Linked DNA regions of Homo sapiens: all the other regions are linked to region 1. Evidence: promoter capture Hi-C in human tissues and cell types (Jung and others, 2019). All regions are on one chromosome and are shown on one strand. The core of a region is centred on a gene start or on the middle of the fragment in contact, and the rest is flanking DNA. Distances in the headings are between cores, read along the strand shown.

Evidence for each region. The method cuts DNA at HindIII sites, captures the fragments that hold promoters and counts their contacts. A contact is called where the count stands out against the background at its distance.
Region 2: a contact is called between a fragment that was not itself captured here and the fragment with the promoter of MUC4 in region 1, in 4 of the 25 tissues and cell types used here (aorta, lymphoblastoid cells, ovary and 1 more).
Region 3: a contact is called between a fragment that was not itself captured here and the fragment with the promoter of MUC4 in region 1, in 1 of the 25 tissues and cell types used here (mesenchymal stem cells).

Annotation. Positions count from the first base shown.
Region 1 is chr3:195,810,382-195,814,105 of GRCh38, forward strand. It overlaps MUC4 (mucin 4, cell surface associated), which reads right to left and starts at 1,548. Exons shown (of 25, transcript NM_018406.7): 1 at 1,355-1,548. The coding sequence starts at 1,436. The HindIII fragment of the contact is 26,053 bases long and covers 1-3,724 here.
Region 2 is chr3:195,860,214-195,864,219 of GRCh38, forward strand. It overlaps TNK2 (tyrosine kinase non receptor 2), which reads right to left. Exons shown (of 16, transcript NM_001382273.1): 16 at 3,151-3,974. The coding sequence ends at 3,968. LINC01983 (long intergenic non-protein coding RNA 1983) reads right to left here and starts at 191. Exons shown (of 2, transcript NR_134939.1): 1 at 60-191. RefSeq lists enhancers at 1-102, 103-625. The HindIII fragment of the contact is 7,484 bases long and covers 1-4,006 here.
Region 3 is chr3:195,758,117-195,762,118 of GRCh38, forward strand. It overlaps MUC4 (mucin 4, cell surface associated), which reads right to left. Exons shown (of 25, transcript NM_018406.7): 14 at 3,971-4,002; 15 at 3,368-3,469; 16 at 2,768-3,001; 17 at 1,008-1,145. Among named protein-coding and RNA genes, the nearest start is that of MUC20, 39 kb to the left of the region's middle. The HindIII fragment of the contact is 7,333 bases long and covers 1-4,002 here.

The sequences.
Region 1 (3,724 bases), core at 298-2,797:
CCCAGACTCTCCCCCAAAGACTCAGACACCCAGAAACACAGAATAAAACTTGGTCCTGAAGCCAGAGGGACAGCCTGGAAAGTGTGGGGAAGAGGACGGGGGCCCCCGAGGGAACATCTCCCACAGGCCTGGCATCCCTCCCCTCCCAGCTCTGTACACGGAGGAGCCCAAGGCCAATGCCGGGGCTACGAGCCCCAGGCAAGGCCGTGACCCAAATGGAGGCTTTTAAACCCGAGCTCAGAGGTAAGAAGCCCACGGCCAGCACCTCCCGGCCCTCTGCGCCCTGGCCGCCTCCTCCGCACCACCCTCCCGGCCGGCCTGCCCCTCTCCTCCTTGTCGCTTCCCTTGCTTGCTGCTGTCTCCCGATCTTCTCCTCTCTCCATTCCCAGGGTCCTCAGTTTGTCTGCGTCTCACCTGTCTCGTCCTCTCACCCTGCAGCTTTACATGAGTTTTCTTCCGTCTCCATCACCCAGCTTTCCTGGCATCCCCTCTACCCCCAGCTCTGTACACAAGGGTGTACATCTTTCTCCTTGACTCTGTTCCTCTTGCTCTGGCTCTGCCTGTCTTTCTCTCTGCGAGTAAGCCTGGGCTCTCACCATGGATCCTTCCAGACATCGCCGGGCTGCTCTCTGGCCCTCTGTTCTCTTTTCTCTCTCTTTCGAGCATTCTCCCTCTGTCTTTCCCCTCAGATCTTGTCCCGTATCTGCCAGTTCATGCCTCCTCTTCCCCACTTTTCTCCTCTTCTTATTTTTTATTTTATTTTATATTTATTTATTTATTTATTTATTTATTTATTTATTTATTTATTTTGAGACAGAGTCTCGCTCTCTCTCCCAGGCTGGAGTGCAGTGGCGCGATCTTGGCTCACTGCAACCTCCACCTCCCAGGTTCAAGTGATTCTCCTGCCTCAGACTCCTGAGTAGCTGGAATTACAGGTGGGGCCCACCACGACCGGCTAATTTTTGTATATTTAGTAGAGACGGGGTTTCACCATGTCGGCCAGGCTGGTCTCGAACTCCTGACCTCAGGTGATCTCCTGCCTTGGCCTCCGAAAGTGCTGGGATTACAGGCATGAGCCACCGCGCACGGCCTCCACTCTTCTTTCTCTCTCCCTCTTCTCTTCCTCTTCTTTCCCTCTCTGGGTCTCTCTCCACCTTCCCCCCATGTTGTCCCATTCATCTCTTTCTCCTTTCCCTCTCCCTCTTTTTCTCTCCCTTCTCTTCCTCTTCGCTGTCTCCCTTTCCCCTATTCTCTCTCTCTCTCTCTCTGTCTCCCCGGACCTCTTTCTCTGACAGCTCCCACCTCCCCCAAGTGCTCCCCGCAGCCAGCCTCATCTGCTGTCTCCATCACTTACCTGGGACCACATGCGGAAGGAGGCAGAGACACAGGCAGCTCAGGGACACCCAGGGGACCCTCCTCCAGCGTGCCCCCTTCATGGCTGCGGCAAAAGTCCCCCTGGCTCCCTGGGGAAGCTCCACGGCCCAGCAGCTGCAGTGTGAGGAGCAGACGTGAGCCCGTCCCCTCAGGCGGCTGGCCCGAACCAAGTGCGTTTCTCCGAAGGGGCCAGGGAACCTGGGAAGAGGACAAAAGAGGGCGGGGCCCCACGCTAATCACCCTTTTCTCTCCTCAGCCCCACCCCACTACCCCACCAGGAAAGAAAACACCGATACACCCGTTGCTCTGCTTCTCATCAGCCTGAGCTGAGTGGCGGGAGGGATGGGAGGAGACATGGGGGAATGGGAACAGGTCACACTGGAAATGGGTGGGCCACCCTCCTAGCCGGGTTCCTGGGTCCTCTCCTCCCTCCCCAGGGGCTGCCCCTGTCCCACCAGAGCTTTGGGCTGCTGGGAAGAATGGGGAAGAAAGGGCCCCAGAGGGAGCGACCTTGGGGCTGTATGAATGGGGGAAAGAGAGTGAGACTTAAGCAGACCCCAAGGAATTGGGAAGCGGGGAACCATGTGGGTGAGGGGCAGGAACAGAAATGCACTGTATGCCGTCTTTTGGAAAGGGGTGGTGTGCTTGGAATATCTGCTCAGTGCAGGCGCGTGGCAGACCCCAGACGCGTGGCAGACCCCAGACGCGTGGCAGACCCCAGACGCGTGGCAGAACCTCAGTGCAGATGCGTGGCAGACCCCAGACGCACGGCAGATCCCAGACACATGGCAGACCCCAGACCCATGGCAGACTCCAGACGCGTGGCAGACCCCAGACGCGTGGCAGACTCCAGACGCATGGCAGAACCTCAGTGCAGACTCGTGGCAGAACCTCAGTGCAGACGCATGGCAGACCCCAGATGCGTGGCAGACCCTCACCAGATGGTGGACTTCTTCTTTCCAGGGCAGGGAGCTGGAGCCAGGGTGCAGGGAGCCAGGGACAGTCTGGGAGACTGGCCTGAGGGAGCTGGCATGGGCAGTGGGTTGAAGGCAGAACCTCGGTAGGAGGAAGCGACTGTAACCTGTGAGGAGGTGGAGCTGCTCCTGGAGACCTGGGGGCTCTGCTCACCCCAGTTCCACCTCTTGGAACTCACAGGCACAAGCGAGGAGGGAAAGGGACCCCAAGTAGGGTTGTAAAGACGAAGAGGGCAGTTGGTGTAGCTCTCTGCAAAGGAAAACGGGGATACCTCCGCTCCCCTCTTTGCCACAGTGTGAATCTCTGCTTCTGATTCCTCAAGACTTGATTCCCGAATGTGGGGTGTCTGTGGGGTGACTCGTCCCAGAGCAGGGACCTTCGATGCTCAGACACTGTGGGGCCCAGGACAAGGACTCAGGGTTTCTGCATTCCCAAGCAGAGCCAGCCTTGTCCAGCAAGGAGTAGGCAACCGACGCTGTGGCGCTGTCTCCGAGGGTCACGGAGGCCCTGTGACCACTTGCTTCTAGAAGCTGAAAGTCTGTTCATGGCCCCAGGCCAAAGCCTGGGCCACGCCATAATAATGCGGATACCGTGGGGAAGTGGCGTGGTCCCCCAACAGTCCCTCCAGCTCTGGGTGGACGAGCTGACCCTGTTCTTTCCTGGAGGTAAGAAAATCATAAAGGTAAAGAGTCATGTGGAGCATCCTGTGGGCGCCTGGACGGGGCAGCAGGAGGGACCTACTGCAGGGAATTCGCAGACACCAAGGCCCAGCTTGGCCTTCGTGATCATTTTGCACTTTTTTTTTTTTTTGAGATGGAGTCTTGCTCTGTCGCCCAGGCTGGAGTGCAGTGGCACCATCTCAGCTCACTGCAAGCTCCGCCTCCCGGGTTCACGCCATTCCCCTGCCTCAGCCTCCCTAGTAGCTGGGACTACAGGCACCTGCCACCACGCCCGGCTAATTTTTTTTGTATTTTTAGTAGGGACGAGGTTTCACCATGTTGGCCAGGTTGGTCTCGAACCCCTGAACTCAGATGATCCGCCCGCCTTGGCCTCCCAAAGTGCTGGGATTACAGGCGTGAGCCACTGCACCCGGCCCGTGGTCATTTTTCTGTCAGCTCTTGCTCGTGGGTCCCCCCATTACCTTTCCACAGGTTTTGTTTGGTGACGCTTTCAGGACAACAGTTTTCCATCTCTAGAGGAGAAAGGAGCATCCAGGTGAGACCAAACTAAGCGCTGGACATCTTGTTGACCGAACACAGGTAGCTGACCTCTTTCCCATGCCAGGAAGGCCAGAGGCACACAGCGCTCTCCGGAAGCTGCTGTGACGGCCGAGACTCCAGGAGGGCGTTACAAACCTGGGCTTGATCCCAGCTCT
Region 2 (4,006 bases), core at 1,344-3,843, 51 kb after region 1:
CGGCTCGTGCCCGCCGCCTCGGCTGCAGGGCCCTCCACCTGCAGCGCTTTCGTCCCTACCTGGCGTTCACCGTTCTCACCCATCACATCAGCACAACGTGACCTTGTGGGGAGCCACCTCCTCTGCTCCCAAGACACCTGGTGCGTAACGATTACAGAGCACCCGTCCTGCCGTGATGCTGTCACAGTCCCCCAAAGGCTGTGGACCCATCTGGGGCACGGACTGTTTCTACTTGGCTTGTGTTTCCTCATCAGGGCTCCACACACAAAAAGCACCCGACACCTCCCCACTGAGTTGATTCTCCCTGTTGTTGATTCTGCCTGTTGTTGATTCTGCCTGTTGTTGATTCTCCCTGTTGTCGATTCTCCCTGTTGTTGATTCTCCGTTGTTGATTCTCCCTGTTGTTGATTCTGCCTGTTGTTGATTCTGCCTGTTGGCAAACACACCTGGGTCAGCGTTTCAACTTCCCAACTTAAGATCTTTTCAGTAAACCCAGGAGATGCTGGAAAAGCTGGCAGGCCGATTAGAAGCAAGAAAAACATAGCAGGAAACCCAGGGTTTAGGGAACTGTGTGTCTGGCAGGAAAAGTACACTGGGTTCCCTGCTCCCCTGAGAAACCTCGAGCTGCTTTGACATCCTCTGCCCCCTGCAAAAATCTTTCTGGATGTGTTGGCTCTGAAACAGATTTTTAAATGCTTGTAAAGCATACACACATCTGGATTGCTTACAAAAAATTGATGTGTTTTTTAAAATGAAGTAAAAACACCTATGATCTATAAATAGGATAATTGTGAGCAAAAGAATAAACTTTCTGAAACAGAAGGAAAATGAGAAAAGTAAAACACAATTCTATGCGCAGAGTGTGGTCAGTGTATAATGTGAGCTATTGATTAATAGAAACAGGCAGGAACACGGGGAAATAACATTTATAATAACTACTGTTTGGTGGGAACTGACTGTGGCCCATACTCTAAGCAAAATGTTTCACCTTCACAACCTCAGTCAGTCCTCACAACCCTTCTATAAGGCAGGAATTACTCCATCAGTTTACAGACTCAGAAAGGTGAAATAACATTTCTAAGACGAAACAGAGCTAGGAATGAAATCCAGGTCTAACAGCAATGCTCAACACTCACTTAATATGAACTTGTTCTGGCTGGATGCGGTGGCTCACGCCTGTAATCCCAGCACTTTGGGAGGCCGAGGCGGGCGGATCATGAGGTCAGGAGTTCAAGACCAGGCTGACCAGTATGGTGAAACCCCATCTCTACTAAAAATCCAAAAATTAAAAATCCAAAAATTAGTCGGGTGTGGTGGTGTGCGCCTGTGGTCCCAGCTACTCAGGTGGCGGAGGCAGGAGAATCACTTGAACCCAGGAGGCAGAGGTTGCAGTGAGCCGAGATTGCACCACTGCACTCTAGCCTGGGCAACAGAGCAAGATGCCGTCTCAAAAAAAAAAAAAAAAAAAAAAACTTGTTCCCTTTTGTGATATATTTGACTAGGTATTTTAAATCACAGTTAAAATAATAGAATTCCTGCCTTTGCAAACGGCATATGCAAAGCTCCCAGGCCTCAGAACTTCTGAGCCTCGGGGCCTACCCACGAAGGCCAGCCTACAGCCAGACACACACGTGGCCCAGACTCACCCTGAATGGCCTCTGTTTTGTTTTCAATAAACCCGAGTCATTAAGCTTACTTTCTTATGATTTACCTCTTTTCCTAAAGTTCACATGATCATATGTGAAGCTCAAAGAGCTAGTTTCCTTGATTGATCCAGTAATTTCCTGGAAAGCAGTAAGAAACCGATGAATAATCTAACATTTTGTAATGGGCCAAGGATATTAATAGGCAACTCATTAAAAAGGAAATACAAATGGCTCAACTTATTTTTGAGTTTATTCGTAAGAGAAATGCATATTAAAACTATAGAAACACTATTTTCTACCAGTCAGTCTGCCAAAGATCAGAAAACTCCTTAACACATGGAAAGCTCCCTTGCACAGGTGGTGTGACAACTGAGAATGTCCCTCCGCTGAGAGCAGGTTCAGCACCACCCACCGCCATGGCACACGCCCTTTGACCTAGCAGTCCCACTGCTGGGAACTCATCTTCAGATTGACGTGCGAGTGAAAAACAGCCCACATACACAATTTACTGAGGCAATGGTTGTAATTGCGAAGGACTGGATGCAACTAAAATTGCCCTTCATCAAAAGGAACCCAGTTAAGTAGGTTATGGTACACCCGTGCATCCACGCAACCCGAAAGAATGGGGAAGCCCAGCCGGGCGCGGTGGCTCATGCCTATAATCCTAGCACTTCGGGAGGCTGAGGCAGGCGGATCACCTGAGGTCAAGAGTTTGAGACCAGCCTGGCCAACATGGAGAAACCCCATCTCTACTAAAAATACAAAAATTGGCTGGGTGTGGTGGCACGTGCCTGTAATCCCAGCTACTCAGAGGCTGAGGCAGGAGAATTGCTTGAACCTGGGAGGCAGAGGTTGCAGTGAGCAGAGATCGCACCACTGTACTCCAGCCTGGGCAACAAGAGCAAAACTGTCTCAAAAAAAAAAAAAAAAAAAAGAATGGGGAAGCACGTTCAGTATTGCTATGGAATTCTTCAAAATATTATTAAGTAAAAACAAAAACAAGCACTACACAAGAAACTGGTGATACAGGCGTCTCTGCACTGGGGAAGTGGACGGCCGCGGTGGGTGATACCCAGTCATTTCACTGTACACTCCTCAGTGCCTTTTCAATTTTGAACCGTATGAACATGAGTTATTCAGAAAAGCAATTAAAATACCTAACATATTGAAGGGTTCCTTGTTGCTAACATTTCTGGCTTGGTTCTATTTAACTGGGTTGCTGTACTCTCTCCTGCAGTATATATCCTGCCTTACAGAAGTCCACGCGGCAAGTGAAATCCAGGCAGTGTGAAAGTCACTGACCAGACCGGCGGGGACTCTGGCCCCGCTGCCGGCCGTGTAAGGGAAGAGGCCTCCCGGTGTCCAGGCCTGCGCGCCCTCCCGCTGCCTCCAGGTGGTGCTACAAGGCCTGCTGCCCGGAGCAGATGCTGGTGGCCTGGGGAGCCTCGCTTGGGGCCTGGAGCTTGCTGACTAACAGGCAAAGAAACAGGCAGGCACAAGTAAGTAACATAAAATAGAAACTAACTTTATTTCTCTGGAAGAAGCAGGTACTGAATGCCGGAGCAGCAACTTCGCCAACAGGCTGGTGGGAAAACATGGAACCGCGTGGGGGAATTGGGTGGAAGAGGAAGCACTGATGTCCCTCCAGGGCGGCTGCCCCTTGGTCTCCTTCCAGCCCTGGGGCCTTGGGCCCTGGTCCCCGCCAGAGAATGGTCTGGCACCCTTTCTCCGCTTCCTGAGCCACCTCAGGCTATTTCCAGGCACAAGATCCTGAGGCCAGCCAAGTCCCATTCAAGTCCATGGTAAGGCCACAAGTCACATTCTGCCCGACACCCCAGCTGCTGCCAGGGGCCCCCTGGAAGAAGGCCCAGTCCTAGGAGGTCCCACCGGGTGCCGGTCCGCCTCTCCCTGTGGCCAACACATCCCGCCTGCCCAGGTCCAGCCTGGTTTCCTCCCAGTCTGTCACCCAGGGCAGGGCCTGGGGGTACTACTCCACCCACAGGCCCCGCCCAGGACCAGGGCCAGAGGCAGGTCATACCCAGAGCCTGCTGGGGCAGCCCTCAAGCCTGTCTTCACCCGGCCCCTTCCACATCTTGGCAGGGGCACCGGGACTGAACCAAAGTGTGCAGGGACAGCGCTGGTGCAGGAGGGATGGGCAGGGCAGGGCTCCCAGCCTCCCGCAGCCTTGGCCTTGCTCCATCCCCGGGAGCAGCAGGAGCAGCGGGTCCTCCAGGACTGGATGGGGGCATCTCCCCACTCCTGGTGGACGGACAGGCTCAGGTGATTCCTTCAGGCAGGCCCTCTGGCTCTCCAGACGCATCTCAGCGCCTAGAGAATGGGAAACCACCAGCACAGTTAAA
Region 3 (4,002 bases), core at 1,503-4,002, 51 kb before region 1:
GTCACCCTCAGAATTAGTGCTGGCAACAGACAGAAAGTGGCATCCCTTTGATGCCCTTGGACCCTTTGAATTAGTGCTGGCAACAGACGAAAGCAGCGTCCCTTGTGCTTGGAGCCTTTGGCCCTGATCATGGATGTAGGGCTCGGGGTCTCTAACACCTTTACGGAGAGGGAGCGATGGCACTCTACTGGGTCCTAGCCCAGGAAACCAGACAAGGAGAGACACGGCTAGGTAAACATGGTTGCCAGACAAAAAGAGCAAGAAAGGTACCAAACGAAAGTATTTTTCATATTTCTTTAAATCTTGTCCTACATTAGAGCCTTCCTTTAATAGATATAAAAATGTTGTAAATTGGTCATTTTAAATGTTGCACTTGATTATTCTAATAATTTGGTGAATGCATAATGACTAAAGATGACTATATATGATCAGATTGAGATTAAATGATCTTCAAATCTTTTTTTTGAGACAGAGTCTCGCTCTGTCACCAGGCTGGAGTGCAGTGACGCGATCTCAGCTCACTGCAACATCTGCCTCCTGGGTTCAAGCGATTCTCCTGCCTCAGTCTCCTGAGTAGCTGGGATTACAGGCATGCACCACCATGCCTGGCTTTTTTTTTTTTTTTTGTATTTTTAGTACAGACGGGGTTTCACCATGTTGGCCAGACTGGTCTCGAACTCCTGACCTCAGATGATCCGCCCACCTCGGCCTCCCAAAGCGCTGGGATGACAGGCATGAGCCACCGCGCCCAGCCTTGAATCAGTTCTATGTGCCCAGAGTCACTCTAGCTATCTGGCCAAACCGCCGTAAGCCCGTCACTACTACTTACTGGGGGGCACCTATTTGAGTTATAGATATCGCTCCTCGGAAATGCCGGTCCTGGATATTCAAATGAAAGAGTGACAGCAAGTGTTGCTGGGTGTAGCAATGCAGAATTTCCCAAATTTGACTCTGACCTCATCCCCTACCCACCTCCCCACTCTCCCCAGCCAGCCAAATAGTCCTACCAAAGAGCTCCAAGTCGGTGCAGCTGTCTCTGAGCGTGAAGTTGGCATCCTCAGCATTGCTGGTGTACTGAATCAGCGTGGTCTGCCCCTTGTAGGCTTCAATCACACGACCACCATTGATGGAGGGCGGGTACTGATCTGAAACACAAAGAGGGAATGGGGGTTCCGAGGCAGGACAGTCTCCTGCTTTATCAGCCTCCTCTCTTTCTCAACTCTAATATGTGTGAGGCATTCCCAGGACTGTGACCCACCTCTGGAAGAAGGAATTATTCTGTGTACCTGCTCTCGACTGACGCACAGCAGGCTGGGACTGTACTGCCCACCTAGCCAAATCTTTAGCCTCTTTCTCTCCCCCCACCTCCTCAAAAAGAGCTCCTTTCAGATTCTTTCCTGAACACAGTGCTATGCTGGGTATGACAAAAAGTGAATTAGAGAGCAGATTTGTTTGGACCATTACAAAGGGTTGTACCCTTAGACCAAAGGGTTGTACCTTTGGCAAAGGGCTGAAAACCTGAAGGGTGCTGGGTGTCTCATGTCTGTAATCCCAGCACTTTGGGAGGCCGAGGCCGGTGGATAACCTGAGGTCAGGAGTTCGCGACCAGCCTGACCAACATGGTGAAACCCTGTCTCTACTAAAAATACAAAATTAGTCAGGCATGGTGGCGGGTGCCTGTAATCTCAGCTATTCAGGAGGCTGAAACAGAAGAATCGCTTGAACCCGGGAAGCAGAGGTTGCGACGAGCCGAGATCACGTCACTGCACTCCAGCCTGGGCAACAAGAGCGAAACTCCGTCAACACACACACACACACGCACAAAACCTGGAGGGTCACATCTAAAGGGACATTGCATTTGTCCAGAAATAGAGAGGGAGTGAAACCTCTTCACGGGTCTGTTTCTCGGAGCCCTGCCATTTCCATTTCATAGTTGCTTCACACATTCATTCAGTCAGTCATTTAACAAACATTTATTGAGCTAAGTGGCTGGCACTGTTCTGGGTGGTGAGGATACAGTCATGAATGAATAATTAAAAAGATACCTGTGAAAATTATAAAATATGTTGAGTAATTATAAATGCTAAGGAGAAAAAAATAAAGCAGGGAAGGCAAACATGAAGTGTGGGTGAATGTGACATTTTAGACAGGGCGGCCAAGAGAGGCCTCACCAAGGAGGGGACATTGGAATGAAGACGTAAAGAAGGTGAGGGGCAAGCGTGTGGCTGTCCAGGGAAGGAAGGGTATTCCAGGCAAGAGAACAGCACGTGTGAAGCCTGGGAGCTGAGCGCACCTAGCGTGTTTGAAGAACACAGAGGAGCCTGCGGGGCTGGAGTGCAGGGAGCTGGGAAGGGGTCCAGCGCTAGGATGGAGTGGAGGGGGCTGGGAAGGCATCCAGCGCTAGGATGGATGGAGGGGGCTGGGAAGGGGTCCAGCGCTAGGATGGAGTGGAGGGGGCTGGGAAGGCGTCCAGCGCTAGTATGGAGTGAAGGGGGCTGGGAAGGCATCCAGCGCTAGGATGGACGGAGGGGGCTGGGAAGGCGTCCAGCACTAGGAGAAGAGCTCTGAGAAGCTGAACTGGGCCGAAGGCCACTGCAAGGATGGAGAGAGCCAGGGAAGTCTCTGAAGGGTTTGAGCAGAGGAATGCCAGGAGTGGAAGAATCTGCTCAGTGAATGCAGATGCACAGGGAAAAGCAGGGTCAGGCAAGGGCAGCTCCTCATCTGCTCCCGACTCTGAAAAGGCCTCCCCAGGCCTCGGGCCACTTACTGAGGGTGGCGTTCGCCTGCTCGTAGTTTTTACTGACTTCCCTCGTGTGAAGTCCGATGCTTGCGTTGCGCAGGGCCAGGGTGTCATAGATGCATGAGCTATCTCCGTCACAGTTGGAGATCAAATGTTCAGCCCAGGAGCTGTTTTTTTGCAGTTGTGAGTAGAAAACAGGGGTGAAGTTGGAAGGCAGCTGGTCATTCCTCTTGCCAAGGAGGCCTGTCCCGTTGATCTGCCCTGTAACACACAGAGCGCGGTGGTACCAGGCATGGCACTCAGCCTTATTCCATCTGTGTCCACCTCTACCCCTCACTTTAGATGGCTTGGAGCGGGGCGGTGGGAGTGCAGGGCCAGAGCGGTTTCCAGCTTCTGAGTCTAGAAACACCTGCTGCAGTGAGAGAGGACACTCCACGTCCCCCATTCTCTCCTCCAGGTAGAGAGAGGCAGGTGGGCTGGTGGTGGTGGGGACAGCCCTGGGGGGGCACAGATTCCTCAGACCTTAGGGAGGATGGAGGTCTGCTTCCTACAGGGCCGAGGGGGACGACATAAACATACCGGCTCCCCTCACCTGCCCCTCTGCCCCAGGACCCTGCCCAGACTCACAGGTCATTCCAAAGTGGAAAAGCATCTCCTCAGGGCTCCCTGGGGGAATGGTGGAGCCATTGGGCATCCTGAAGTCGTCCTCTGGATTGTTATTCCAGACCCCTGAGGGACAGAGTGGGAGGTTGGCCACCCTGGGCACGCGGCTGTCCCCTTCCTGGGGAGCATCCGGCGGACGCAGTGGGGAGAGGCCAGGGCCTGGCAGCCTCTGCTCTTGCACCTGCTGTCAGGCCTCCAGGGGAGCCGGGAGGACGGGCCCTCACACCCTGCCCGTCTGCCTTCGGGAGGGGCGGGAGGAAACGCGGGCAGCGGTGGAGGAGGGCGGGAGGATGTGGGAGGCAAGAGGAAAGGGAGAAAGGATGGCTGTGCCCCCCGCCTCCCCGCAGCCCCCCCTGATGCTCCCTTAGAGCGGGCGGAGGACAGGAAGGGAGCCTCGGGGGAGGCTGGAGAAGCCCCTCGGCTCCCGGCCCGCTCTGTGCCCCAAGGGTTCTGCTCCAAGGAGGCGGAGAAAGGGAGGCCGAGCAGGGCTGCCCGGGCCGCCGGCGTGGGGGTCCGAGCTCCGGCTGGCTCCGCGGAGCCTCAGAGGCAGGTCCGAGCCGCCCTCACCCAGGAGCCCCTCCGTGCGGTTCTGGTACTCG